Regions from separate parts of the Homo sapiens genome. Here regions 2 and 3 are each linked to region 1. Evidence: promoter capture Hi-C in human tissues and cell types (Jung and others, 2019). All regions are on one chromosome and are shown on one strand. Each heading gives the region's core, a stretch centred on a gene start or on the middle of the fragment in contact. The rest is flanking DNA. Distances are from core to core; before and after follow the strand shown. Region 1 holds the start of CRELD1 (CRELD disulfide isomerase 1). Region 2 has its middle 33 kb from the start of LINC00606. Region 3 holds the start of THUMPD3 (THUMP domain 3 tRNA guanosine methyltransferase).

The links. The method cuts DNA at HindIII sites, captures the fragments that hold promoters and counts their contacts. A contact is called where the count stands out against the background at its distance.
Region 2: a fragment that was not itself captured here is called in contact with the fragment with the promoter of CRELD1 in region 1 in 1 of the 25 tissues and cell types used here (dorsolateral prefrontal cortex).
Region 3: the fragment with the promoter of THUMPD3 here is called in contact with the fragment with the promoter of CRELD1 in region 1 in 2 of the 25 tissues and cell types used here (hippocampus and spleen).

The regions. Positions count from the first base shown.
Region 1 is chr3:9,930,637-9,935,083 of GRCh38, reverse strand. It overlaps CRELD1 (CRELD disulfide isomerase 1), which reads right to left and starts at 1,250. Exons shown (of 11, transcript NM_001077415.3): 1 at 1,164-1,250; 2 at 472-664; 3 at 167-249. The coding sequence starts at 645. It overlaps IL17RC (interleukin 17 receptor C), which reads right to left. Exons shown (of 19, transcript NM_153460.4): 16 at 4,141-4,189; 17 at 2,381-2,476; 18 at 2,226-2,264; 19 at 1,463-2,131. The coding sequence ends at 1,491. RefSeq lists an enhancer at 839-1,208 and silencers at 1,309-1,638, 2,219-2,278. The HindIII fragment of the contact is 22,722 bases long and covers 1-4,447 here.
Region 2 is chr3:10,728,574-10,733,020 of GRCh38, reverse strand. No RefSeq gene overlaps it. Among named protein-coding and RNA genes, the nearest start is that of LINC00606, 33 kb to the left of the region's middle. The HindIII fragment of the contact is 5,529 bases long and covers 1-4,447 here.
Region 3 is chr3:9,360,933-9,365,379 of GRCh38, reverse strand. It overlaps THUMPD3 (THUMP domain 3 tRNA guanosine methyltransferase), which reads right to left and starts at 2,326. Exons shown (of 10, transcript NM_001114092.2): 1 at 2,253-2,326; 2 at 60-364. The coding sequence starts at 311. It also overlaps a transcript of SRGAP3 not described here. RefSeq lists enhancers at 1,877-1,936, 1,957-2,036, 2,107-2,166, 2,387-2,596. The HindIII fragment of the contact is 11,864 bases long and covers 123-4,447 here.

The DNA.
Region 1 (4,447 bases), core at 1-2,500:
TCCAGGAAGGGGGCATTTTGCTTGCCTTGTTTACTGCTATACTATAGATGTTCAGTGCTATTTGTTGAATGAATAAGTGCTCCCCAAGAGTTCCTAGCCCTACACCAGCAGAGCAGAGATTTGGCGGGGAGGGGAATATACACCCCTTCCCCCAGCAGCCCCTTACCTGTCTTTGTATTTGGACAAATTCTCTTCCTCCCAGGCAGTGTTTCCACCTCCAAAGTTGTCCCGGATGGTTCTCTCCAGGCCCTGGAAACAGAAAATTAGTAATAGCTAAGTACAGTGCCTGGCACATGCTAGCACTTCACTGTTCTACTGACTAGGAAACTGAGGCACAGAAAGGCAACCTGCCTAGGGCCATACAACTAGTAAGAGACCAAGATGAAACTTAAATCCACGCAGATTTGCATCCCAGAGTTCCCCACTCTAAATCGCTGTGTTCCCCTCTAACGAGGCTGCCGGTGCACCCACCTTGTTAAAGCTGTCAACCAGTCCCCGGCAGGTATGACACGGATGGGGCTGAGGCGGGGGAGAAGACTGGGGAGGTGGAGAGGGCTGGAGCCAGATAGGTCCTGGGAGGTTGAGGAAGAGGCTGAGGCCCCAGAGCATAGCTGGGACTAGGCCCTTCGGGGGCCATGGGGCCATCTTTACCCAGGCTGGGGACCTGCAGATAGAGGGCGTGGAGAGGCTTCACTGAAGGAGTCAGGCCCCACGCGAGAAAGAAAAAGGTCTGTTCTAAGGTGCCGTGGCGCTGGGATCTGCGTTATTACAAGCAAAAGAGGCCAAACTGGGTATTGCAGGGGCTGTGGGGATGGGTGGGGAAAGGCGCATAAGATGCAATTCCAGAAGAGAAATAAGTTATCCTCGCTAGCATGGGGTGGAGAGGAAAGTGGCCTCGCTCCTTGACAAGGGGGCAGAAGTCAGCCTCTTGTCTGAGGGTCTGATAAAGAATATTAGGGGCCGGATCCGCAGAATTAGGGAGAAGAGATCAGATTCCAAGTACTGAAGGAGAGGAGGCCAGAGGGGTTGTCTTGGGGGAGGTGTCCGGAACCCCGGGCTTGGAGGGAGGAGCCCGGATCCGGATATGAAGGGAAGGGATCAGATTCAGGGCCTCGCAGAAGGGCAAAGGCACGGCCCACGAGCCGGCAGAGAAGGATCCAGACCCTCGTAGGCCACGGAGAAGGAAGAAGCGACCGCCCCAGCCCGCGGGCGCCGTGGGCCGTCTCCTCACCGCGTCGCTGCCACAGCCTGCGTAAAACGCACAACCCCCACCCGCGCCGCAGTCCAGGGGGCGGAGCTTGCCGCCCAGCCAATGGCGACGGGCCATGTGCCATTACGTCACCCCACGCCAGCCAACCAGAGGCGGCACCGAGCTGCACCTGTCCGGGCTTTAAAGGGCCGCGGGGCTAGGGAATGACGTTTGCCAGCCCCGCCACTGAAACGGAGACGCGTGTGGGCCACATGGGTAGAAAAACAGCGTCTGCCTTTATTTAAGTCCCGTCCCCCGCCCCAGGTCCCGCGCCTGGTCCCACCCCGCGTCCCGGCGCGGGAGTCCCCGGGGGATGGAAGTAGCTATCCAGGGCTGGCTGAAGGGCCCGGGACACTTGCTCCGCTCTCTCTTGGAGCCGCCCGGAACGCGGGGCGCGAGGCTGCTGCAGGGCCCCCAGGAAGTCTGGCAGTTGGGAGGGCAGTGTGAAGACGGGCACGGTGCGGAAAAGGGCGGGTACGGCGTCCGGGTGGAGCAGCCTGTCGAAGCAGGCCCCCACGTAGCTGCCGGGCGCCCGGCCCTGCAAGAAGTCGGGCAGCACGCAGCTGAGCGAGGCGCGGAAGGCGTCGTGCGGGCCGTGCGCCCCGGGCCCGGACACCCCATCCTGTAGCCACTCGCTGCACAGCGCCACCGCACCGGGAGAGAAGAGCAAGACCACCACGCCGCCCTCCTGCAGGGTCTGGCGCCGCTGCGCGTGAAACCAAGCCACGGGCCCCTGCGCGCTCAGTTCACGACGGCTCCACAGGTCTACGGCCACGCGCAGCGGCAGCTGGCACAGGGCCGACGCCAGGGCGCCCACCAGGCGCTCGAAACCCGAGTCATCGGCTGAGTAGAGGAGCAGAGCCGCGCGGCCCCTGGCGGCCGCTGCCGGAGAAAACAGATGGGGAGGGAAGAGGTGAGCTGGCACAGGCCTGGCTCCCCGGGGGCGGCCCTCCGCCCAGCGCTTGCTCCCACTCACCCCCCGAGCGGACGTCCTGTTTCAAGAGCCTCAGCCACCCTGTTAGGGGAGAGGGGCGGAGGCAGCCAGTGAGCTCGGCCGCCGCTTTCCCTCGGAGAACTCCCACAGCCACTCTGGTCCTCCCCCAGGGGAATGGGGAGCCGGGAAGCGCTCACCTTTCGCGTGATCCTTTTTGAGAAGGAGGATGAGGGAAAGCGCAGCGGCAAAGAGTAGGCAGGCCAGCCACACGAGGGCCCAGCGCTTGTGGATGTCTGGGAGACCCAGAGAAGAAGAGTTAGAAACTTACCCTCCACAGAGAAGAAAAACTGAGACTTAACAGAAATGAATTGGGCCGGGTGCGGTGGCTCATGCCTTTATATAATCCCAGCACTTCGGGAGGCCGAGGCGGGCAGATCACGAGGTCAGGACATCAAGACCATCCTGGCTAACACGGTGAAACCCCGTCTCTACTAAAAATACAAAAAATTAGCCGGGCGTGGTGGCACACGCCTGTAATCCCAGCTACTCGGGAGGCTGAGGCAAGAGAATCGCTTGAACTCGGGAGGCAGAGGTTGCAGTGAGCCGAGATCGCGCCATTGCACTCCAGCCTGGGCGACAGGGTGAGACTCCTCTCAAAACAAAACAAAACAAAACAAAAAACGAAGAAATGATTTGCCCAGAGTCCACAGCACAGTGTCAGAGCCAGTGGATGAATATAGCTCCATCTGTTTAGGGGTCTTTGAATAAGTAATGTCACCCTCTGCCTCAGTTTTCTCCTCTGTAAAGTTGTACCTGTGTCATAGGGTTGGTGTGAGGACTAAATATATTAATACATATAAAGCTTAACACAATGTGTTAATACATACTTAACACAATGCCGAGCATCTTAAGTGCTAAAATGTCAGCTGTTTTTCTCCCCTAAGCTAGGGTTGCTGGGCCCTTGATCTTGCTGTCCTGGGTGTCTGCAACTACCTGGTGTCCCTGCCCTGTCTTTTTTTTTTTTTTTTTACCTCCAATTGATTTGCCTTGAATTGATTCATGACAGCCTCAGAGATCTTTTAAAAATATAAATTTGGGCCAGGTGCGGTGACTCACGACTATAATCCCAGCACTTTGGGAGGCCGACGCGGGCGGATCACGAGGTCAGGAGTTCAAGACCAGCCTGGCCAAGATGGTGAAACCCCATCTCTACTAAAAATACAAAAATTAGCAGGGCATGGTGGCAGGCGCCTATTAATCCCAGCTACCCGGGAGGCTGAGGTAGAGAATTGCTTGAACCCGGGAGGCAGAGGTTGCAGTTAGCCGAGATCGCGCCATTGCACTCCAGCCTGGGCAACAGAGTGAGACTCTGCCTCAAAAATAAATAAAAAAATAAGTATATATATATATATATATATATATATATATATGTGTGTGTGTGTGTGTGAAATATATAAAAATTTGATCGTAGCTCCTGCTGCTCTCAACATAAGATCCAAATCCCCTACATGTCTCCTGCATCTTTATCTCATGACAGAAACCTGCCTGTCCAAGACCCTGTATCTCTACCCCCTTCCCCTAGCTCAGTCTTCAGAGTTTTGCTGGAACCTTCCCCCTGAGCCCCTCACCCCTCACCCCACCCAGGTCAGGTCCACATTGTATGCATTTACAGCACTGAACACTTGGTGGTGCTTCAGTAGCTCCCACTTTAAATGTAAGTGACTGGCTCATGTCTTGCTAGTCTTCTAGGGGTGGGGCGGGGGCAAGGATTTATATTTTTGGTGTTCCTGCGATCCCTGCAAGCTCTCATCATTTTTTGAGTGAATGAAGGAATGACCCTCTGTTTATCTGATCTCAGGGAAGGACAAGGCCATTGCATGTGCTGTGCCCAAGAGTGGTCCCTGTCAAGATCCCCACTCCTGGTACAGAAAGGAAAGGCAGTTCTTACAATACTCACATTTGTCCATGGGGCAGGCCCATAGCGCTCCCAAGTCATCGTCCCATAGCTGTAAGATACAAACAGAACCAAATCCAGGGCACCAGCCAGGTGTTCCAATATTCACCAAGCTCTGGTGGCCTGATCTCCAAATTCCCAGCATCAACTATGCATATCTCCCGGCTAAGGTTCCTGCAGCTGCTCTGCCTTTGTGCTGTGCCCACTGACTAGGGTATGACTTCTTCCATACCAAATCTGGCTTATAGGAAGAAATTCTTCCCGGAAGCTCTCCCTGGAACCCAAAACTTAGCACCTGTAGGTGTGGTTA
Region 2 (4,447 bases), core at 1,416-3,915, 800 kb before region 1:
AGTTGTTTGATTTGTGGCTTGTTTATATATTATATATCTCTCCTTTACATACCTATGCTTTTCTTTGTCTTCTTGAATGCATAGAGTATTTGTTTAATAGCTGCTTTAATGTCATTCTATCAATTTTATCATCTGTGTCATTTCTGGAACCATTTCAATTGAATGAGTTTTGTGCTCATTATGGGTCACATTTTCCTGTTTCTTTACATGCCTGGTAATTTTTTTTTAAATGTATTGTCAATTTTATATTGGGTGTTAGATTTTGTTGATGTTCTTTAAATATTTTTGAACTTTGTTCTGAGCTGCAATTAAATTACTAGAGAACAGCTTGGTACTTTTTGAGGCTTGCTTTTAAGCTTTGTTATGTGGGAACAGAACATCTTTTAGTCTAGATCTAATTTGGCCCCACTAATGAGGAAAAAGCCTTCTGAGCAGTCTAATTAATGCTGTGTGTGTTAGAAGTCTTCCCACTCTGGCTGGTGTGAACAAAAACCATTATAGGCTCTGTGTGGGTTATGGTAATTGTTCTCTCCACTCCTTTTCAGTGGTTCCTTCCAAAGCCTTGGGTAGTTTCTGCACATGCATGTGCTGATTCATACTCAGCTTAAGATTTGAAGGGAACTTTTGATAGCTCTTCAGCACTCTGTAGCATTCTACTGTCTGATACTTTGGCCTGATAAGTCTAGCCTCCATGAATTCTTAATTCTCCCTCCTCAACTCAAAAAGACTACCAGTCTCTCTTTGGGCTCCCTCTCCCTGTTCTGTGGCCTGAAAAGAACTTTCAACACAAACAAAGTAAGATGGGTGATCACAGAGCTGTCTTCCTTGGTTTCTCTCCACTCAGAGATCACTGTACTGTGCTCCTGTTGTCCAATAACTGGAAACCATTGTTTTATATAATTTTGTCTGTTTTTCTTTTTTAAGGTGATGTGTGTGTGGGTGGGGGGGTGTGTGTGTGTGTGTGTGTGTGTGTGTAAGAGAGAGCGAGAGAGAGAGAGAGAAAGAAGCTGGTCACTGTTACTCCACTGTGGCCAAAAGAAAAAGTTCCTATTATTTGTTATTAAATCTTTATCAATTTGCTTGGTAAAACTGGTTTCTCATTGCTTTAAATTTCTAACATGTTTCACTACTATCAAGTTTTAAATTTTTTTTTCAAGTATATACAAGCCATTTATAATGCCTCTTTTGTTCACATAGCCTTTGCTCATTTTTCTAGTGAGGATGTCTTAGTGTTTCTTACTTATTTTTATCTGCTCTTTAAAGCTATTATCCTTTATCAATTTGTTGTGGATAATTTGTCATCTGTTACTCTTTAAAATAAATTATTTTATTGCAATACACATATAGAAAAGTGCACAAATGATAAGTGAATTACTTGATGAATTATCACAGTGAACATACCTCTGTGACTACCACTAAGTTCAATAATTAAAGCCTTGCCAGCAACCTAGAAACCTCCCTTTGTGCCCCTGCTATTCATTACCACTACCTTCTTCCCAAAAAATAACCATATCCTAACATCTAACAACATCAGTTAGGTTTGCCTGTTTGAACTTTATAGAAATAGAATCATACAGTATGTCTTTTTGTATCTGACCTCTTTCATTCAACATTATAATTGTGAAATACATTCACGTTGTTGCATGCAGTAATAATCTGCCCTTTGTTATTGCTGTGTGAGTATACAATTTATTGATCTGTTCTACTGTTGATGAAAATTTGGGTTGTTACCAGTTTGGGGCTATTTTGAGTAACAACTGCTTTCTCTTATTTTTCACATTTAGATCTAAAGTCCATCTACCATAATTTTTTGCATGTGGAGTGAGGTAGGGGTCTGGGCTCATTTTTTCACTGTGTAATTATTCAGTTGATCCAGCTCTATTTATTGAGCTCTGTTTCATTCCACTGGCATTTTTGCCCATCTTTGTTTTAATATCACTATTGTGGGCTGAATGCTTGTGTCCCCCCAAAATTTACACATTTAAATCCCATCCCCCAGTGTGATGATATTAGGATGTGTAGCCTTTGGGGGGTAATTAGGTCATGAGGGTGGTGCCCTCCTGAATGGTACCCTTATAAGAGAGGCCCCAGAGAGCTTTCTCACACTTTCTGCTGTGGGAGTACACAGCGAGTTTCACTCACGTCTGTGTGAAGAGACCACCAAACAGGCTTTGTGTGAGCAACAAGGCTGTTTATTTCACCTGGGTGCAGGCGGGTTGAGTCCGAAAAGAGTCAGCGAAGGGAGATAGGGGCGGGGCCATTTTATAAGATTTGGGTAGGTAAAGGAAAATTACGGTCAAAGGGGGATTGTTCTCTGGCGAGCAGGGCTGGGGGTCACAAGGTGCTCAGCGGGGGAGCTTTTGAGCCAGGATGAGCCAGGAGAAGGAATTTCACAAGGTAATGTCATCAGTTAAGGCAGGAACAGGCCATTTTCACTTCTTTTGTGGTGGAATGTCATCAGTTAAGGCAGGAACCGGCCATCTGGATGTGTACGTGCAGGTCACAGGGGATATGATGGCTTAGCTTGGGCTCAGAGGCCTAACAGCGAGAAGACATTGTCTGTGAATCTGAATGTTGGCCTCCACCAGACACTGAATCTGCTAGTGCCGTATTTTGGACTCCCCAGCCTCCAGAATTGTGAAAAATAAATGTTTGTTGTTTAAGCTGCCCAATCTATGGTATTTTTGTTATAACAGCCTAAATGGACTAAGATAATCACACTGTCTTAGTTACTGCAAGTTTATATCTTGATAGCTAGGAGTGCACATATTCTTACCTTGTTCTTTTCCATTTTTATCAAGGAGGAGATCAGCTTCTCCTTCTTGCAAACCAAAACAGTGATAATGCAAATCAAGGCACATTTGGAATTCTCTGCTGCAGAAGCCTCCCGAGGCTCATGCCTGGAATCTCTTAACCCACCCTCTCCCACCTGCTTTTGTTTCTGGGACTGAGAGTCTGGATTCTGACAAGCCTGAGTTCGAATCTCGTGTCTGCCCCTAACTGTGAGAATTTGGGCAAGTTGCTCCTCTTTCTGGGCCTCTGTTTCCTCATTTATAACACGGGAATAGTCATAGTACCTAACTCAAAAGGTTACTGTGAGGCTTAAATGAGACTATATAAAATGCTAAACACAATGCAGCAATGGACAGATCAGCATCACCATGATCATCACCGCCCCATAGTTCCTGTCACCGGGAGAGGACAGACCCTCAAGTTGACCATCTTGCTGCATTCACACTGATCATGGGGTCCCTTCTGAGAACTGAGCTTCAGCTTTTTTCTTGAGCCAAGGCCTCTCTTTCTGTCTTCCCACACACTGCTAGCTCAGCCCTTGGCTCCAGAGACTCAGCCCCTGTACTCTCCCACGTGTTGTTAGTGGGCCCAGCTCCAGGCAAGTTTCAGGGTTGGAGGCAAATGCCAGCTCCACTGAGGTCTCCCTTGCCCACACCCCCATCCCAGTGAAGAGGAGGTTACCAAAAGGAGGAAAGGAAGGAAAGAATCCTCTTTCCCTTCCTCAGGCAGGAAGGACTGGGTGAGAAAAGGTGTGGAGGTGAAAACAGGCATGACAAGTGTTCTGGTTACCTATTACTGCAAAATAAATCACCCTAAAATTTAGTGGCTTAAAATAACAACTATGTTATTCTCTCTCATGGTTTCTGTGGGTCAGGAAATCAAAGAGGGCTCAGCTAGATGGTTCTTGTTTGGCGTCTCCCCTAGGTTGCAGTGAGTCAGCGGCCTGAGCATCTCTGTCTTCATGTAGTCTCGGGACCTCCCCATGTGATCTCTGCGTGGGCTAGTTTGGGCTTCCTCACAGCATGGTGGCCTCAGAGCAGTCAGCTGCCTTACATAGTGGCTTGGAGCTCCAAATGCAAATGTCCAAAAAGACTCAGGTGGAAGCTGCATCGCCTTTTATGATGTATCCTTAGAGGTCAAATACAGTTGACCCTTAAACAACATCAGCACCAACCCCTTGCACAGTCAAAAATCCATGCATAACTTTTGACTCCTCCAAAATTTAACTGCGGATAGCCTACTGTTGACTGGAAGCCTTACCAATAACATAAACAGTTGATTAACACATATTTTATATGTATTACCTACCGTATTCTTACAATAAAGTAAGCTAGAGAAAAAACGTTATTAAGAAAACCATCAGGATTAGCCAGGAGTGGTGGCAGGTGTCTGTAATCCCAGCTACTTGGGAGGCTGAGACAGGAGAATTGCTTGAACCCAGGAGGTGGAGGTTGCAGTGAGCTGAGACCGTGCCACTTGCACTCCAGCCTGGGCAACAGAGTGAGACTCCGTCTCAAAAAAAAAAAAATTCAGGAAGAAAAGATATATTTACTATTCATTAAGTGGAAGTGGGTCATCATAAAGGTGATGATTCATTGTCATCATCTTCACACTGAGTAGCCTGAGGAAGAGGAAGGATTGGTCTTGCTATCCC
Region 3 (4,447 bases), core at 1,077-3,576, 570 kb after region 1:
AAAAGTAACCATAAAATGATCAACTTAGAAAACTATTTTAAATATTGCTCCATTCAAACCTGTGCCAGACTTTCCACTGAAATGACAAAATATATCTTGCCACGGTCTCTGCTGATTTTGCATGATGACCCAAGTTTCTCTCTGACTTCATCTGCAGCTGTTTGCTCAAAGCCAGTAGGTACAGTGGCTCCAATAGTGACTAGAAGCTCAGATTCACTTCCGAGGTCACTTTCTGTCACTTGTACAGACTTCTGGTTCTCATGAAGGTTCACATCTAGGAGTTGGTTAGTGGCTTCTTCAATGTCACACATGTTGGCTGTGCTTCCAAGATCCCTAACACTGTCTCTTTAAAAGCAGTACTGTCCTTTAAAAGAAAAAGAAATAAAGCCCAAATATTATCATCTCATATTTCAGTTATAATTAAAAACATGGGCTCTGGAGGGCAGGAAGAACAAGGCAACACATCTGATAAACAGTCACCAAAGTAAAAAGGGTTGAATAAACATGGGCACAGAGTGCAGGCTGTAAAACATGATGTTATTATTAAAGAAGCAATACAGATACCATGGGAGAAAAAGAGACAAGAAGTATTTCCATAGCATGCAATGTTTGCTTTGGGGTAACCCATGTTGACAAAAGCCATTTCATAACTACGACAGAAACTGCAGATCACATTCAAATCCATTTCTGCATCTAGATGTTAAGAACATGGTTAGTTAAGAATATAGGGCTTGGCTGGGCGTGGTGGCTCACACCTGTAATCCCAGCACTTTGGGAGGCCGAGGCGGGCAGATTGCCTGAGGTCAGGAGTTCAAGACCAGCCTGGCCCACATGGTGAAACCCCGTCTCTACTAAAAATACAAACATTAGCCAGGTGTGGTGGTGGGAGCCTGTAATCCCAGCTACTTGGGAGGCTGAGGGAGGAGAATTGCTTGAATCCGGGAGGTGGAGATTGCAGTGAGCTGAGATCATGCCACTGCACTCCGGCTGGGGTAACAGAACAAGACTCTGTCTCAAAAAAATAAATAAATAAATAAAATAAATAATAATAATAATAATAATATGGGGCTTTTGGAGTTTCAGATAGATACAGGTTTGAATTCTTGCCTCCACCATCATAGGTTGAATGACTTATGGCAAATTAATTCTCCCAAACCTTCAAATGTAATTAAGTAATTAGTAATACCTCTTTCCTAGAGTCGTTAGGAGACAAGTGAGAGTAGTACCTGGTTAGGCCAATAATTAAAACTTATTAATAGGCTATCTATCTTCTTCCCTCCTGTGAAATAGCATTTCATGCATTTAAAAATGATTAACTGGGCTGGGCACACTGGCTCATGCCTGTAATCCCAGCACTTTAGGGAGCTGAGGTGAGTAGATTGCTTGAGGCCAAGAGTTCGAGACCAATCTGCGTAAGATGGCAAAATCTCATCTCTACCAAAAACACAAAAAATAGCTGGGCGTGGTGGTGGGCGCCTGGAGTCCAGCTACTTGGGAGGCTGAGGTGGGAGGACTGCACTCCAGCCTGGGTGACACAGTGAGGCCCTGTCTCAAAAAAAAAAAAAAAAAAAAAGAAAAAATTAAAAATAAAAATGGTTAACTGAATACTTACTATCTAATGATTACAAATGTTCAAACGCCTACTACTTGCCAGACTCTGGGATCCATAGATGGGCATCAGGAGAGAGATCTTGGAAGTAATCCGAAATAGTAAAACAAATTTCCTATGCATAAGCTTTTGTGTGTGCTTGGGGTGGGGGCCGGGGGAAGTATTAGAGAGGTGGAGGGGCCATAGCTTACACGAGATTTTCAAAAGGTCTGTGACTCAAAATAACTTAATTGAGTACAGAATACCTATAATGTCCTTGTGCTGTGCCAGCGATACACGACAGTGTTTAACACTACGTCAGTTCCCGCCGTTAAAAAGCTGACAGTCACTGTGAATACAATCTCCATCTTCTAAAAAATGCAGCTGAGGTCAGCTAAAGGACGCGTTCCGCACAAGGTCAGAGAGCCAATGAGAGGCGCAGAATGAAAGAGAACTCACGTCTCCCAACTCCCACCTACAGGGCCCGGGAATCCTAGGGAGCGGGTAAAGGCCTGGGAGAGGGAGCAAGATGGGCTCCGCCACGAGATCCGCCTGAAGTCCGGCTCGGCGCCGGCCTCAACTGCAAGAGGAAGGCCACCCCTCTCTCCCCAAGCTGAAACACCAGAAGAGCCACACTCGGCCGTTCCCAACCGCCGCCAGTTACCGGCCGCCAGCGAAGACCCTTTCAGCTCCCACACTCCATTGGCCTCTTGCGGTCAGGTCACGCCGCCGGAAGCCGCCCCCGGAAACGGAAGTCAGGCTACGAGTCACGGTGGCTCCGCGCTGGCGGCGGGTTCCCCCACAAGGTCTTGGGGAAAGGAGCATGCGCTGGAAGCTGTGTGCTGTTGGTTTTGAGGATCTTCAGTAAGCTGAAAGCGGAGAGTCAGGGGCCTTGTGTCCTACCATGGTATTTGCTAACGTTTAGAGAGTGCTTCCCCTTGCCGAGCACTGGGTAAGCGCTTCACATGCGTCATCTCATTTGGAACAAGTCTCTTTTGTTCTAGCACCTATGAAGTGGCAGAGACTGATTTCTGTTTTAAAGCTGGAGACACCGAGTCTCTCCAGCTTATTTAAATATCTTTCTCAAAATGTCATGCCACTAGTTCCTGATTTCTGTATTGCCATCACTATTTTAGCACTGTTTACTTCATATTTTTCTTTAGTTTAAAAAAAATAGAAATAGTGGGGCTCACTATGTTGCCTAAGCTGGTCTCGAACATCTGGGTTCAAGTGATTCTTCTGTCTAGCCCTCCTAAAGTGCTGGGATTACAGGCATGAGCCACTGTGCCCAATCAGATGAACTTTATTTCTCATAAAGGGTTGAACCTGGCCGGGCACAGTGGCTCATGCCTGTAATCCCAGCACTTTGGGAGGCTGAGGCGGGTGGATCACTTGAGGTCAGGAGTTTGAGGCCAGGCTGGCCAACATGGTGAAACTCCATCTCTACTAAAAATACAAAAGTTAGCTGGATGTGGTGGCCTGCACCTGTAGTCCTAGCTACTTGGGAAGATGAAGCAGAAGAGTTGCTTACCCAGGAGGCAGAGGTTGCAGAGAGCCAAGATTGTGCCACTGCACTCCAGTCTGGGAGCAAGACATCATCTCAAAAAAAAAAAAAAAAAAAAAAAAAAAGAGTTGAACCTGCATGGTAGCCATTTTGACAGACTGGGAAGCCTAGCTTCCAGTCAGAAGCCAAAAACAGGCACTTCCAGGGTTGGAAGAATAAGACAGGGATTTATGCTAAACACAGTGGCCAAATATACATGTTAAATAAACTGTAAGAGGGGTCACGAATATTTATGAAAGGAGCAATTTGTGCATGTGCAGTTGAGCTTCATGCCTCTCTGTGGATCCCATGTTTAAAAAATGGTGGCCTTAGCATGATCCAAGGGTAGAGTTTTCTACCGCTTGACTTCAAAAGGTGAAGCAGGGGATGTGAAAACCCTCACTGCACGTCCTCTGTCGACTGGCCAGAACCACTCCCTGGATGGTGGGTGATCTCTTATCAGGAAGGAATGCTAGTCGGTTGTTCTATTGAAACTGCAAATGGGAGGGTCAGCATCAGGCTGGTGGAGTGAGTCTTTCAAAAGGGCTGGTTTCTGTTTAACCCTTAGGAAAGAAAATCTAATGGCGATTATAGAGGGAGGGGTTATAAAGAGGTGTGTCCGACTTCCCATCCTGTCATGAGTAGGAACTCAGCTTCCAAGTTTTTTCTAGGGTCTCCTTGGCCAAGAGAGGGCCTGTTCAGTCAGTTGGGGGGCATAGAATTTTATTTTTATTTTTCAGTTGACAAAAGTTAACTTATTGTGAAAGGAACCCAACAACAAAAAGATAAACCGAATTTAAAACAAAACAAAACCAAAAAGAACACAATTTATAAATGTGCAAAGGGGCTGGGAGTGGTGGTTCATGCCTGTAGTCCCAGCGCTTTGGGAGGCTGAGGTGAGTGGCTCGCTTGAGCTCAGAGTTTGAGACTAGCTCTGGCAACATGGCAAAACTCTGTCGCTACAAAAAAATGACAAAAATTAGCTAGGCATGGTGACACTCACCTGTAGTCCCAGCTACTCGGGAGGCTGAGACAGGAGAATAGCTTGAGCTGGGGAGGTTGAGGCTGTAATGAGTTATGATCACATCACTGCACTTCAGCCCAGGTGACAGAGTGAGACCTTGTCTCAAAAATAAAATGAAAAATATGTAAAGGGCTTGAATAGATATTTCTCCAAAAGATGGACAAATGGCCAATAAGCACATGAAAAGATGCTGAACATCATTAGTCATTAGGGAATTGCAAATTAATCACAATGGGATACTCATCAAAATGACTAAAAGTAAAAAACAAAAAATCAACAGTTCCAAGTTCTA